3 separate regions of the Homo sapiens genome follow, and regions 1 and 3 are each linked to region 2. Evidence: promoter capture Hi-C in 16 types of primary human blood cells and fetal thymus (Javierre and others, 2016). All regions are on one chromosome and are shown on one strand. Each heading gives the region's core, a stretch centred on a gene start or on the middle of the fragment in contact. The rest is flanking DNA. Distances are from core to core; before and after follow the strand shown.

Evidence for each region. Contacts are between HindIII fragments. The CHiCAGO score rates a contact against its expected background, and 5 or more counts as called.
Region 1: a contact is called between a fragment that was not itself captured here and the fragment with the promoter of FKBP14 in region 2, in 1 of 17 cell types (activated CD4 T cells). The highest score is 7.3, in activated CD4 T cells.
Region 3: the fragment with the promoter of SEC61G here is called in contact with the fragment with the promoter of FKBP14 in region 2 in 1 of 17 cell types (total CD4 T cells); the score reaches 8.6 in total CD4 T cells.

What each region holds. Positions count from the first base shown.
Region 1 is chr7:111,563,823-111,568,389 of GRCh38, forward strand. No RefSeq gene overlaps it. Among named protein-coding and RNA genes, the nearest start is that of IMMP2L, 3.6 kb to the left of the region's middle. The HindIII fragment of the contact is 1,653 bases long and covers 894-2,546 here.
Region 2 is chr7:30,023,695-30,027,986 of GRCh38, forward strand. It overlaps FKBP14 (FKBP prolyl isomerase 14), which reads right to left and starts at 3,008. Exons shown (of 4, transcript NM_017946.4): 1 at 2,618-3,008. The coding sequence starts at 2,814. FKBP14-AS1 (FKBP14 antisense RNA 1) reads left to right here. Exons shown (of 3, transcript NR_187577.1): 3 at 1,693-3,547. RefSeq lists an enhancer at 3,264-3,413. The HindIII fragment of the contact is 9,298 bases long and covers 1-4,292 here.
Region 3 is chr7:54,757,142-54,762,010 of GRCh38, forward strand. It overlaps SEC61G (SEC61 translocon subunit gamma), which reads right to left and starts at 2,070. Exons shown (of 4, transcript NM_014302.4): 1 at 2,017-2,070; 2 at 354-453. The coding sequence starts at 447. It overlaps SEC61G-DT (SEC61G divergent transcript), which reads left to right and starts at 2,172. Exons shown (of 3, transcript NR_110040.1): 1 at 2,172-2,383. RefSeq lists a silencer at 1,720-2,039 and an enhancer at 2,273-3,208. The HindIII fragment of the contact is 2,422 bases long and covers 59-2,480 here.

The DNA of each region.
Region 1 (4,567 bases), core at 470-2,969, about 82 Mb after region 2:
ACTGGTCTCCCTGCCAGCATCACCTGCATTAAAGCCTGTCTTCCCTGGCAATACTCGTTGTCTCAGGGACTGGTTTTCTTTGCTAGGAGCAACCCAACCTAGGCTGAAGCCCAGGCATTTAGCAGCAGTGGCACCTAGAAATACTGAACAGACATAAAATACTTTTTTTCTCCTTTTCTTACTCCTCCAGTTGTATCTTCATTATTTCTGTCTCTATTCTCCCTCTAGATACTGCCAAACTACTCTGTGCACTTTCAGATCACTTAATACTAATGTAAATAACAGACATTCTGGCACTCTTGGTTCAAAATTTATTCTAAAGGTTTAAGAATCTACTCAGGGTCTTAAATAGCCTGATAACTAAAATTCCAAGAGTTTCCTAAAGAGAGCAAAATTGCTCTCCTGTGAAGGGGATATGTCCCAGTTTTTCTTACTTGTCACTGAAATAATTACTGCAAAGTAAGCTCTTTTCGGCCAGTGCTTAAGGACTTAATTTCAAGAGCACTTAGGTGACAGGACCACCCTCATCAAATAGCAGTCAAGAACTATTTGGTACCATGACCCCAAATTGAATGGAGCTCCTGGTCACTAGGAACTGACAGTCTGGGATGGAATGTAGGTGAATAAACAACAAAGACAGGTGTTTATGGCCTTTATTGTATTGGGAAGTCAATAAACATACAAAAAGAGTTGCTAGGTCTGGCCTGATTTTATCACTAAGATTCATCAAGTGTACTTAAAAAGAAGCTAATATCTGGAAAGGGCAGAACTATGGTATATTAGTCAGGGTTTCCTAGAGGGACAGAACCAATAGGATAGACATATAAATATAAAGAGGAGTTTATTAAGTATTAACTTACATGATGACAAAGTCCCACAATAGGCTGTCTGCAAGCTTGAGGAGCAAGAGAGCCAGTCCGAGTCTCAAAATTGAAGAACTTTGAATCCGATGTTTGAGGGCAGTAAGCGTCCAGCACAGGAGAAAGCTGTAGGCTGAGAGACTAGGCCAGTCTCTCCTTTTCATGTTTTTCTGCCTGCTTTATATTCACTGGCAGCTTATTAGATGGTGCCCACCCAATTAAAGGTGGGTCTGCCTTTCCCAGCCCACTGACTCAAATGTTAATCTCCTTGGCAACACCCTCATAGACACACCCAGGATCAATACTTTCTATCCTTCAATACATTCAAGCTGACACTCAGTATTAACCATCACATATGGAGACAGTAAAAAGATCAGTGATTGCCAGAGGTCACAGAGGAGGGGGATATGAAGCACAGATTTTTAGGGCAGTGAAACTATTCTGTATGATATGATAATGGTGATGCATGTCATTATACATTTGTCCAAACCCATAAAATATACAACCCAAAGAGGGAGCCTTAATATAAAATCTCAACTTTGGGTGATAATGATGTCAATGTAAGTTCATCAATTGTAACAAATATACTGCTCTGGTACAGGATATTCATAGTCAGGGAGGCTGTGCAGATGTGGGGTACAGGAATATATAGGAACCCTATACTTCCTGCTCAATTTTGCTCTGAACCTGAAACTGATCTTTGGGAGAAAAAAGTTTATGAGAAAAAGAAGCAGCAGTTAGAGCATCCTATTTTATTCTAATTTATCAATTAAATTCTAAGCTGAATATTTGGCTTTATGTATCTAGTTCAAATATATTTGCCTTGTCTCCTTATATATTAAAGCAGACCTCTATTTGTTGTTAATACCATCAGGGGAAAATGAATCATAAAGTCCTAACTAAGGTACAAATTTAAACTATAGTTAGGCATCAAATCTAATGGTCAAAGAGATATTTAAACAAAGTTAAAATAATTAAGTTTACAGATTCCACAAATATAGATATTAAAATATATTCCTATCTATACATACTTACCATTGGTAAGCAAATAATAGAAGGTATCATAGAGTAGCAGTTCTCAAACTACTTTTTGATCTCAAGTTCTCTTTACATTCTTAAAAATGATTGAGAACTTTAAAGAGCTGTTGTTTATGTGGGTTATATATGTCCATATTTACTGTATTAAAATTTAAGATAGAAAAATGTTAGACATGTGTTTGCTTAATTTAAACCCATTACATGTTACTGTAAAAGTTATTTTTATAAATAATGACTACTTTTTTTCCAAAAAATTAGAGAAAAGTGGCATTTTTAACATTTTATAAATCTCTTATTATCTGGCTTAAGGAGAGCACTGGATTCTCATATTCTGCCTCTGCATTCAGGCTGTTGTGATATGTTGTTATACCTAAGATATGAAGAAAATTAACTGTCATACGAATTCATAGTTGAAAAAGAGAGGACCTTACAAAGCTCCGGGAAGGGTTTCAGTAACCCCTAGGTGTTCTCAAACCTCACTTGGAGAATTACTGCCAAATGGCCTTTTGCATTTCATTTGTTTGAATGTCATATATTTCCACACAGGCTTCTGTTAACACCTGAAATTATAGCCCTTTACTTATTTCAAGCTAAAACTCATATTTGTCAGCTCATATCAAACCATGACATTTCAATAAAGTTTTTAAAAGCTTTTACTATAGCAACTCTGATGAAATTGATATTATTATTTGAATTGATATGAAAACACTTGAGATTTCATTTATATCCTTCATCTCAAACGTTTTGGAAAATTTTGAATATAAATTGTACCATCTGGAAAAAATGTAAGATTGGTATATAGTTATTAATCCAATTTTAGGTATGCTTATAACAAGGTATATCCCCTTTTATAAAAATAATTTAAAAGCGAGCTTAAAACAAAAACAAAACAAGCAATTACAGTTTTATTTATGAACTAAATACTTGATTCTAAACTTACTACCTTGGAATAAAATTTTAAATATATAACCTTTCATTTTTATTACAAATAAAAATAATGTAAATCATCCAGTTTGGGGTTTTTTAATACAATTTCCAACTAAAAGAAACTAGAGCTGACCAACCAAATGTCTGACTTCAGATCTGGGTCAGGTTATACACAAGATGAGCATAGGATAACTTGTCCCACAAAGCCGGGAATCCATTAACAACAAAATGTGTCAAAGGGACACAGAAACCAATATCAAATAGCTCCTTTGGCCAAAGATGGACAATTTAAGCATCAAAAAAAGTAATGGATGCAGTTGTTAGAAACATACTGAATATATAAAAATTCATGAGTTCTTAATGATGTTCCAAAAAGGGGAGGTCAATAAAAGGAAAAAAAAAATCCACTGGACACTATTGCAAGTAGCTAGCATTAAGCCCTTATTCTAAAATTGTCCATTAAAAGAAAATAATTCAAATTTTCTGATGTATCTTTCCTGATTAAACTATATATCAGAAAACCAAATTGGTGTTGAGGGAAAGTTGTTTTTTATAATAAATATGAAACAACAGAATTGGAAACCCACCATTTAGCAATCTTGCATTTAATAAATGATTCAGGCAACCATCATCAATGGATCAAACCAACAGATGAAATGTTCATGAGGAACTTCACAATGGAGATCAGACCGTCACTACCTCAGCCTAATAATCTGTCATTACAAGTGGGACTCCAGACATTGTGTGCTTCCTGATCTAATGCCATCTGAAGCACTCAGCACAACTATGAAATGTTATCACCCAAAAAACATGAATGGGATCTAATCAAGCCTTAAAACTGACTTCTCACTTACAGGCTTACAAAAAACATGAGGGTTACAGGAATAAGTTAAATGACACCACAAAGAGGCTGGGCGCAGTGGCTCGCACCTATAATCCCAGCACTTTGGGAGGTCGAGGAAGGTGGATCACTTGGGGCCAGGAGTTCAAGACCACCCTGGGTAACATGGTGAAACCCTGTCTCTACTAAAAATAAACAATGAGCCAGGCATGGTGGTGCGTGCCTATAATCCCAGCTACTCAGGAGGCTGAGGCAGGAGAATCGCTTGAACCCGGGAAGCGGAGGTTACAGTGAGCCAAGATGGCACCACTGCACTCCAGCCTGGATGACAGGGTGAGACCCTGTCTCAAAAAAAAAGAAAAAAAGATGCCACAAAGAAGGAAACAGGTAAATCTAGAATGGAGTAGAATGGAGGACACTCTCTAGGACAATTGATGTAGTCTCTACAACAAGTTAATAACTGGACACACAGGAGAGGGAATGGGTCAGGAGAAGCCTAGGTTAAAAAAAATACAGCCATGAAATGTAAGATGTGAACCTTTATTTGGATCCTGATTGAAACATCACAACTATAAAGACTTGTAAGACAATCACGGACATTTAACTATGGACTGGTGTTAGATGATACCAAAGAAATATTATTTTATTAGGTGTAATAATGGCATTGTGATTATGTAAGAAAATGTCCATAATTTTTGGAGAGGCATTCTGAAGTATGTTGAAGTTAAATGACATACTCTCTGGAATTTACTTTATACTTCAACATAAAAAAAAAGAAGGAAGAAAAAGAGATAGCATAAATAAGAAAATAAAATGGATAATTATTGAATCTAGATGATGAGGGGAGTTCTTTGTACTTTTCCATGGTTTTCGTATATGTATGAAATTTTGTATAATGAAT
Region 2 (4,292 bases), core at 1,758-4,257:
ATCATGGCGGAAGGCAAAGGAGGAGCAAAGGCACGTCTTACATGGTAGCAGGCAAGAATGAGTGTGCAGAGGAGCTGCCTTTTATAAAACCATCAGATCTCGTGAGACTTATTTACTATCACAAGGAGAACAGCATGGGAAAAACCTGCCCTCATGATTCGATTACCTCCCACCAGGTCCCTTCCACAACATGTGGGGATTATGGTAGCTACAATTTAAGATGAGAATTGGGTGGGGCCATAGCGGAACCCTATCAACTGGGGACGAGGGAAATAGAATGTCCTGGCTCATGAGTTGAAGAGAGTCTAGCCTAGGAAAACCAACCTGCCGAACTACATACAGGGAGGCTTAAGGGCTGAGTAATGCCTGATCCCTACCTAGCTCCCTTTCAGTGCAATAAGGAAAATATTCTATTCAAGGATATCTTGTAGGTGAGAAAAAGAAGTCACTGTACTACGCTTCATGAGTACCATGGTTACTAAATCTGGGTAATGCCATTTTTTCCTGTAATTTTGCCCAATGATCAAAGTAACAAAATGCCAACTGTAGAAAATTTGGGAAGGCTAGAAATGAAAAAAGAAGCAGGAAACATTCTACTACTCATCACTGACTACAATTTTAGCACAGTTCTTCTTAGGGCTAAGCAATTTATCCCATAGGCTATGGTTCTAGAGATGGCAAACGTGCTTACAAACTGATCATTTGATGGTATTTCTTTTTCTTCAGAGCGGAGTCTCGCTCTGTTGCCCAGGCTGGAGTGCAGCGGCGCAATCTTGGCTCACTGCAGCCTCCGCCTCCTGGGTTCAAGCGATTCTCCTGCCTCAGCCTCCTGAGTAGCTGGGATTACAGGTGCCCACCACGCCCAGATAACTTTTGTATTTTTAGTAGAGACGGGGTTTCACCATGTTGGCCAGGATGGTCTCAAACTCCTGACCTCGCGATCTGCCTGCCTCGGCCTCCCAAAGTGCTGGGATTACAGGCGTGAGCCACCACGCCCAGCCAATTTGATGGTATTTCTTCATGAAGTTTACAGTTAGCAGCTTCTGACCATTTACATGGAGGCTGCATGATAACAGTCCCCTCATCAGGTATTAGAACTTAGTAGCAAACTGCTAAATAATATTCCATGGCTACCACCAAAGTCAGCACAGGTTTTTGGTTCAGAAATCTGAAAGAAGTCAGGCTGAGTCTAAAAGAGATCAGACTAAAAATAACAATATAACTGAATTTTCAAAATGCAAATCACATCATTTAATATCCACCGTGGCACTCACCTAGTTGACAAGAAGAAAGGGCTGTTGAGAATTCTAAGGCAAGCCATTTTTCTGGAACTTTTTCCCAGGGCTAACAGTTTAGAGAAGAGCCCCATTCATTTCCCCAACCCTCAAGACAGACCAGGTCTGAATGCCCAGTAAAGGCAGTTTATTAGAAAATCAGGTGGAGGATGGGCTATGAAGATTTACTGTTTTAATTCATGTTATTCCCTCTACCTACAACATCCTTCCCTACTTTCCCCCTGGAAACCTCCACCCATCTTCCAAGGTTCATTTCAATTATGGTCTCTGGGAAGTCTTTCCCTTTCCCCACCCCATGGAGCCTAACTACTTCAGGCCCAGTTACGCTTTGCTAGCACTTTGAATATTCTGTACCCTATATCATTGCATTATTTACTTGTCTTTCTCCCACCTGTAGATGGTGTATACTGTTAGAGGACAAGAACCTGCTTCTAGCCATCTTTGCGTCTCCAGGACCTGACTTGTGACCATTCAATAAGAGTTTGATAGATGGACAGACTAATGAATAGATGAAGATGATTAGAAGCCAAAATTTCTGAATCTTCCTAGCACCCAGAACATGGCTTAACATCAAGGAAATGCTCACTAAATACTGTCATAATGGAATGAATGGAACCGATGCCTAATTGAAAATCATTAGGCTGTAAACCATTTCCATGTTCCAATTTCTTCGTTTATAGAACAGAAATGATAGTGTAACCACCTGAAAATCCTTCACCTAGACTTCCAAAACCACACCCACCTCATCAATGAAGTCTGACTCTCTAGAAAGAAGCAAATGACTGAAATCATGGTCCTGTGCCTTGACCAAAATACCATTCGTCAGAACAAAAGAAGTAGGTCAGTGAAACGGCATTAGTATATCCTTCAACAGGCAAATAAGTGATAGTGTAGTTTGCTTTTGAAGTCGCTGTGAAAAGTTTTAGGTGAACATCACCTACACCACATTAAAAATGGAATCAAGTCATTTTCTTTAAGAAATGGAGTTTGAGATATGAGAATTCTTTTGGGCTTTTTCTACTTATTGGCCAATTATACACCCAGATATATTTCTGCAATATTTCAAAGATTCTAGTTCTAATTTGTATAATAAAAAAAATTAACAGCCTTTTCCAGACCACATGTTTCCAACAAGACCTTCAAAGGCCTCGCTCGCTATATAAAACTGGCTTTAAACAATTTCCTTTCCCAAAGAAGGAAATAAGATATTTCGGTTTTGTAAAAGAGGCAAAACCAGGTACAGGCCACCTTTCCTGCTGGAGAGCTGGCATAAGTGAGTGGATTCTTAATTACTATTTTACCTGCGGGGCATAATTACTTACGTGGAGTGAAATAAGGAGCCGTCCTTTTCTAAGTAGCCTTCATAGTGGACCAACATCAAATCCCCTCCTTTGGTCTTGCGATGGCAGATGAATGGCTTCTGGAGAACTTCAATTTTCACTTCTGGTTCAGGGATCAAAGCCCCAATCAAAGAAGTGACGAACAGAGTCAAGACCGCGTTCCACAAGAAAAGCCTCATGTTGCTGAAGCAAGGAAAGAAGTCCCTACAAAAGCAGCGAAAGGTCCCTCGACTTCATAGATTTAAGAACGTAGTTCAAGGCTTACGGACAAGGGCTTCAGACAAGTTCAGGACTCCCCCTTCTTAGAAGACGTGGCACATTTACCACCAACTCTTTTCTCAAGGGTCACGAACCTACCTTTAAAGAGTTAAGCCCAAATGCCGGCCTGACTGGCTCTTATAACGCGGCCGCCTGGGAATAGCAGCCTCCCATTGGCTATTGGTGCTGTCCTTCAGGCAGCTCTCAAGCCAATGACGCTGCAACGATGGAATTTACAGCCCGGTAGAGCCGGGCAGCTGCCAAGCGGCGGATCATCCCTTGTGGTCCTAGAGCCCGGTGGATTTCAGCATTCAACCAGCGTGGATTTTGGGAGAGGGGCGGGGCGCAGAGCCAACCGGAAACTCCTCCGGCTGATTTATCTCTGTGAAGAACCCTGCTGAGAGACGTAGGAAGAGTCCCGGGGCCCTATGAAATCTTCGGGGTTCCAGGAAAGACTCGTTTACTCTCGCCGTTGGAGAGCGGCCCCCCAAGATGCCACAATCCTAGGATTTTGCTATTGCTTATAAACTGTAAAGACTGACATACTGCTTGAGGGTTCACAAAGCGCGTTCCCGTTGCATGAACCTCACTACACCCAGTAAGGCAGGTTCTTTTTTCCCATTTAAAAGAGAAGTAAATTTACACCAGGAGATATTAACTGTCCTGCTTAAGGTTGTTTGGCCCCGAAGCAAATGAGCTCTGCCTTCAAACCAGGTCTGATTCATTCCACAGCACCACGTCATGTTATGGCTGCTAATAATTTATCCCTTAAGTTACCTTACAGGGTAAATAATGAGTTTCGACTTGCAGACTTCCGCTTTAAAGAAGAAATGGTAATCATGGTTACGAATTACACAGCCTCATCGTAGTTTACATTTTCTAGTTTTACATTTTTTGCCTAAGTTCAAAAGTAATGCATGTTCATTGAAGTCATTTTGGAAGAAATTGGAAAGCACTAAAGTAAGATTTCCAGATAATATTGGGGAGTCGAATCAAGTTGGAATTTCAGATACATAACGAATAATGGTTTTGCATTTTTATTTACTAAATCAGGCAACTTTAAAGAAAAAGAAAGCTCGCCGATACCACCACCAGCCGCAAACAATCCTCTTAATATTTTGGTGCATGCTTCTGTGACATATACTTAAAGCGATTTAAATCGTATTGTAGTCTTTTCTCACCTCCTCTTTCCACTTAATCTGTAGTTAACATTTTTTCTGGTCTAATAACCTTAACACAGTGCATATCCGCACTCTATGTGCATAGGAATCCCCCTGAAGATCTTGTTTAAAATGCAGATTTTGATCTGGAGGTCTGGGGTGGGTGCAAGATTCTGCATTTCTAACAAGCTCTTAGGTGATGTCAGTGCTCCGGGTCAGTAGATCAACACTTCCATAGT
Region 3 (4,869 bases), core at 820-3,319, about 25 Mb after region 2:
GTTGGTTTCATGTTAAGGTTTTGTTCGTTGGGGTGGGAGCTGAGTAGGGAGACTTCAAAGCTTTTCCAAAGAGAAAATATGTAAGATACTAAAAGTCATAAAATGTTACTAACTAAAATGTTACATGGAACATAAGGCTGTAATAAATAATCTTACACCATTTGAAAATACATAAAAATTTAGACGAGTAAAAAATTTAGGAAGAAGTGACAACGTTAAAAAGCTGTCGCGCAGGATCAATCAATAAAAATGTTGATCAAAGTAATGCAAGGGCTATTAATCAAGATGTTAATCAAACAAAAGGCTTAGAAAATGCAAAGATTTAATTTTTTCTCTCATAGTCAAGCAATTACCTTTTCTATCAGGTTTAGTGCATCTTTTAACCAGCCGAATGGAGTCCTTTACAAACTGCCGACTTGGCTCAACAAACTGCATTACCTGATCCATGACTGCCTGTTTAAAACAAAAAAGATACTCACTGGTATTGGTTCTCATACAATAAGCACTTGCTCATTTATATAAAGATGTAAATGAGACCAGCCACTGAATTCACGTCTAACATGGGTCAATTCCACCTCCTAAAATAAAACAAAAAACAAACTCCAAAGCCTAAATTGATATTATTTTTGGAAATTTCAGTTAATTATCAAAGGCAATAAGAAAAGCACAGATCTTACTCATGATATCTTCACTGACAAAGAACAGCACACGCAATATAAAAAGCCTATCTCTATTAAAAGGTTAAAAAAGGTTACGCAATTGGTAACACATCCATTCCTTTTCTCACTCTGCAGTCCCATCCATTTCTCATTCTACAGTCCCCTCACCGCTCCTAAGGAACCATCAGTGTTGAGATCCAACAATTACTTTCCATATTTTATTTTAAACTACGCAGAAGCCAGTGTCTTGTACAGTGAATGCCAACTACGGTGCTGCAAGAGCCTAGAATAGAGGCAAACGTGAATTTCAACCTTGATTTTTCTAAAACGTGCCAATACAACATACTTTTCTAAAGTATAAAGAATGGCTAAAGGAAGACGCAAATTCTGAGAAGCTACTAGCTAAATTTCAAACTTTTCGATTTGAACACATCTTTTAAGGAAACAGGGCTATATATTTTACCATACAGGTTCTTTTGAGGAATCTATTACCCAATAGAAATGTTATCCGATCTTAGCTTTGAGAGCCACTGCTATAGTAAGTAAAGCAGCCAGGGTGTTATTTGTATTTTCCTCCATTTCCAGTACTCAGAACAGTGGCCAGGTGGTAGTTCAAATCACTGGCTATGGAATGTAAACCTCTGTAAGCCCCAGTTGCCTTCCTTAGTGTAGGGTGTGGACAACGAAATGAAATAATGTCAATGAAACACCAGGAATTCTGCAACGTTCTGGGGGCAAAAACACAGTAATGTCTGTTTTCTCAGTATTTCACTCAACTTTGCTCTTGAAATCCAAAGGGCTTAAACTTTTTGTAATCATAGTTGTCACGAAGGAAGCTAAGAATTCTTTATCCAGAAAAACGCACGCTACACACAATACCGCACTCAATGTCAGGGGTAGAGATCCAAAAACCAACTATGATCTCTCGAACTAGACTCTAGACCAATGCTCTCACTTTAAACCACGGAAGCGGCGGCAGGACCAGAGCTGAGTACAGCTCTTCCCAGACAGGACTCCACAACAGCACACAGAGCCAACCCCGAAGGGATCGGGCAGCAGGACATCATCTTTGGCTGCAGCACAGAAGACGCCGGGGCAGGACGCTAAGCCCTGGAGCCCCGCGGGCCGGCCACCCAGCTCGCCGGGAGTCCGCGGCCCTGGGTCTGCCTTCCGCCAGAGGCCGAGTTGGTGGGATGTCGGCGGCCAGACCCCGGCCCTGAGCCAGGGGACCACTTACCGCCCGCCCCGCGACGGCCGCCCGGGGAGACACGCCGGCTCGCCCACGCCCGCTGCCCCCAAGAGTCGCAAAGGTGTGGCCGCCCCGTTCGCCCGTACCGACCGGTGGGAAGAAACTCACCTACCCAACCGACACCTAAAATGCCAGGGACACGTAGCACTGGAGCTTGCTGATGGAGGCCCACCGGAACCGGAATCCGGGTTTCTGCCAACAGCCCGCCCACTCCTCCGTCCTATTGGTTCCTTACGCGAAACCTCAGTGCGCAAGCGCAGCGCGACGTGCGCCCGGCCACGCTTCCTGGAAGAGATGCATTGCGGAGCTCGCTAGTTGGGGCGTTGGCCTTCCTTAGGAGTGTGAGTCTAGCGTTATCCCTTTTTTCCGGCTGGATCCCGGGTTACCCCACCAGCCCGACCTCAACCCACTCACGTCCACAGCACGAGCCCCAGCGGCCTTGCGCGGTGCTTGCTCTCTAGTAGCGGCTGACTAGGTAAATCCTAAGTTGTGGTTTTTTTTCCTGCGGTCCAGCTTGATGTGTGTCCTTACGGTACATACTTTTTGTATGTATATAATGTTGGTCGAAATGAAGCTTATGAGCAATATAATGTTATGGCCTAATTCAAAATAGTATCCCCACCCCAAACTTTGACTTTGGCTGTCATTCACGGTAATGAATGCCGCTGTAATTGAGGCCTTTGTCAAACGCTAGGTTTGGTTACGGGAGTGGTCATAATGTACACACAGCTCCCCACTTACCCACAAGGATGCATTCCAGGAACCCCCCGCCGGATGGCTGAAACCGTCAGTAGAGACGGGGTTTCACCATATTGGCCAGGCTGGTCTTGAACTCCTGACCTCGCGATCCACCCGCCTCGGCCTCCCAAAGTGCTGGGATTACAGACGTGAGCCACCGCGCCCGGCCATGTTTCCTTTTAGCAATGGAGCATAACGGGATCTGAGGAACAATATAACTCAGGAAGAGCTGATGGAACATTAAGACGTGTTACAACTCTCAGTGCTTCTTAAACTTCTTCAGTAACTGAAATCTCCTGTTAAGTTTTTTAGTAAATGAAATTTGTAACCCCAGAACCTCCAGATATTGATTCAGTGGGTCAGGGTTAGAGGTCACACACCTCCGTATATCTGACTGTAGGTGGTCCATACACACTACACATACCTTGCCTTAGCTTTAAGAGTCACTTTTAAATTCTGAACAGACTGAGATGCGTTTGACTAGTTCTTCATCCCTGGGACTTCAGCCCATGTGTCATCTCCTTAGAGGCCTATAGTGACCATCTAAGGCAATCCTGTCTATCTCATGCTCTTTTTTCCTTTTTCACAATACCTTCTTCATTTGCTGCATAGCATTTGTATTAACATTTATTTATTTATTCCTCGGTCTGTCTCCCTACACTGTAAATCCCCTTACTAGACCATAAGCTCCAAGTGGGTATAATATAGCATCTAGTAAAGTGCTAAACACAGTAAATGCTCAATAAATAATTTTCAAAAAAATAATTCATTCCAAAAAAACATAAAATCACATGTTGGCAAGTTCACCCCAACCACCAAATGTCTGAGTTGACAGTATTTTCAGCAAAACACAGAAAATCAAGTAACACATACAGTGGTTCCCCTTATCCAAGAAAATCTGGTTCAAAAAGAGATGTGTACCAGAAGGTAATCTGGGAGAGGCCACATTCAAATAACTTTCATTACAGTGTATTGTTATAATTGTCTACTCACCTGATTTCGGGAGTTTGAGACCAGCCAGACCAACGTGGAGAAACCCCGTCTCCACTAAAAATACAAAAATTAGTCTGGAATGGTGTCGCATGCCTGTAACCCTAGCTACTCAGGAGGCTGAGGCAAGAGAATCCCTTGAACCCGGGAGGTGGAGGTTGCAGTGAGCTGAGGTCACACGACTGCACTCCAGCCTGGGCAACAGAGCAAGACTCCGTCTGTAAAAAAAAAAAAAAAAAAAAACAGGCTGATAACAGCAAATCTGTGCAAAAATACGTAACAATCAGAACTCTAGAACTCTAATTCCTGGTTACTAGGAGTGTAAAATGGCATAACCCTTTTGGGAAAAGTTTAGTAGTTTATCATAATATGAAGCATATATACACCACCTATGGCTCCACAATTCCAATTCCAGGTACTTATTGAAGATATATGAAACTAAATTCACAGAAAGACTTGTACAGGAATGTTCGTAGTAACTTTATTGATAACAGAACTAAAAGCAACAGGGTACCATCAATAGAATGAATAAACATACAGGTATAGTCCCACAACAGAATAGTACTCCATAGCTAAGGAAAGAAAACTCTCTGCCACAACATTGATGAATGACAAACATGGTGAGTGAAACAAGCCTACGCTAAAGAAGGCACAGTGTGCAGTTCCATTTGCAAGAAATTTTAGACAAAGCAAAAATAATGAATGGTGGAAAAAATCAGAACAGTGTTTGCCCGGGGCTACATATTGAGAAGGCGGGTGAGGGAACTGGGGAGTGAATGTAATGCTCTGTAATTTAACAGGTCTTAGGGTTTCACAGGGGTCTTAGTCAACGTGGGCAGCTATAACAGAGTATCATAGAGTGGTGGCTTACACAACAAACATTTATTTCTCACAGTTCTGGAGACTGGAAGTCAGAGATAATGGTCAGGTTCTTGTGAAGGCTTTTACTGGTTTATAGATAGCTACTTTCTCATTGCATTCTCACATTGCGGGAGATGGAGGAAGAGAGAAAGAAAGGACCAGCTCTCCTCCTGGTCGTAAGAACACTAATCCCAACATGGGGCTTCAGCCTCCTGACCTAATTACCTCCCAGAAGCCCCTCATCCAAATGCCATCACATTTGGGCTTCCACATATGAATTTGGAGGCGCACAAACATTCCATCCATAGCAGCAGGTCTGTGCCTTTTTCCTCAAAAAAAAAAAAAAAAAAAAAAAACCTCAACAAGTATTGA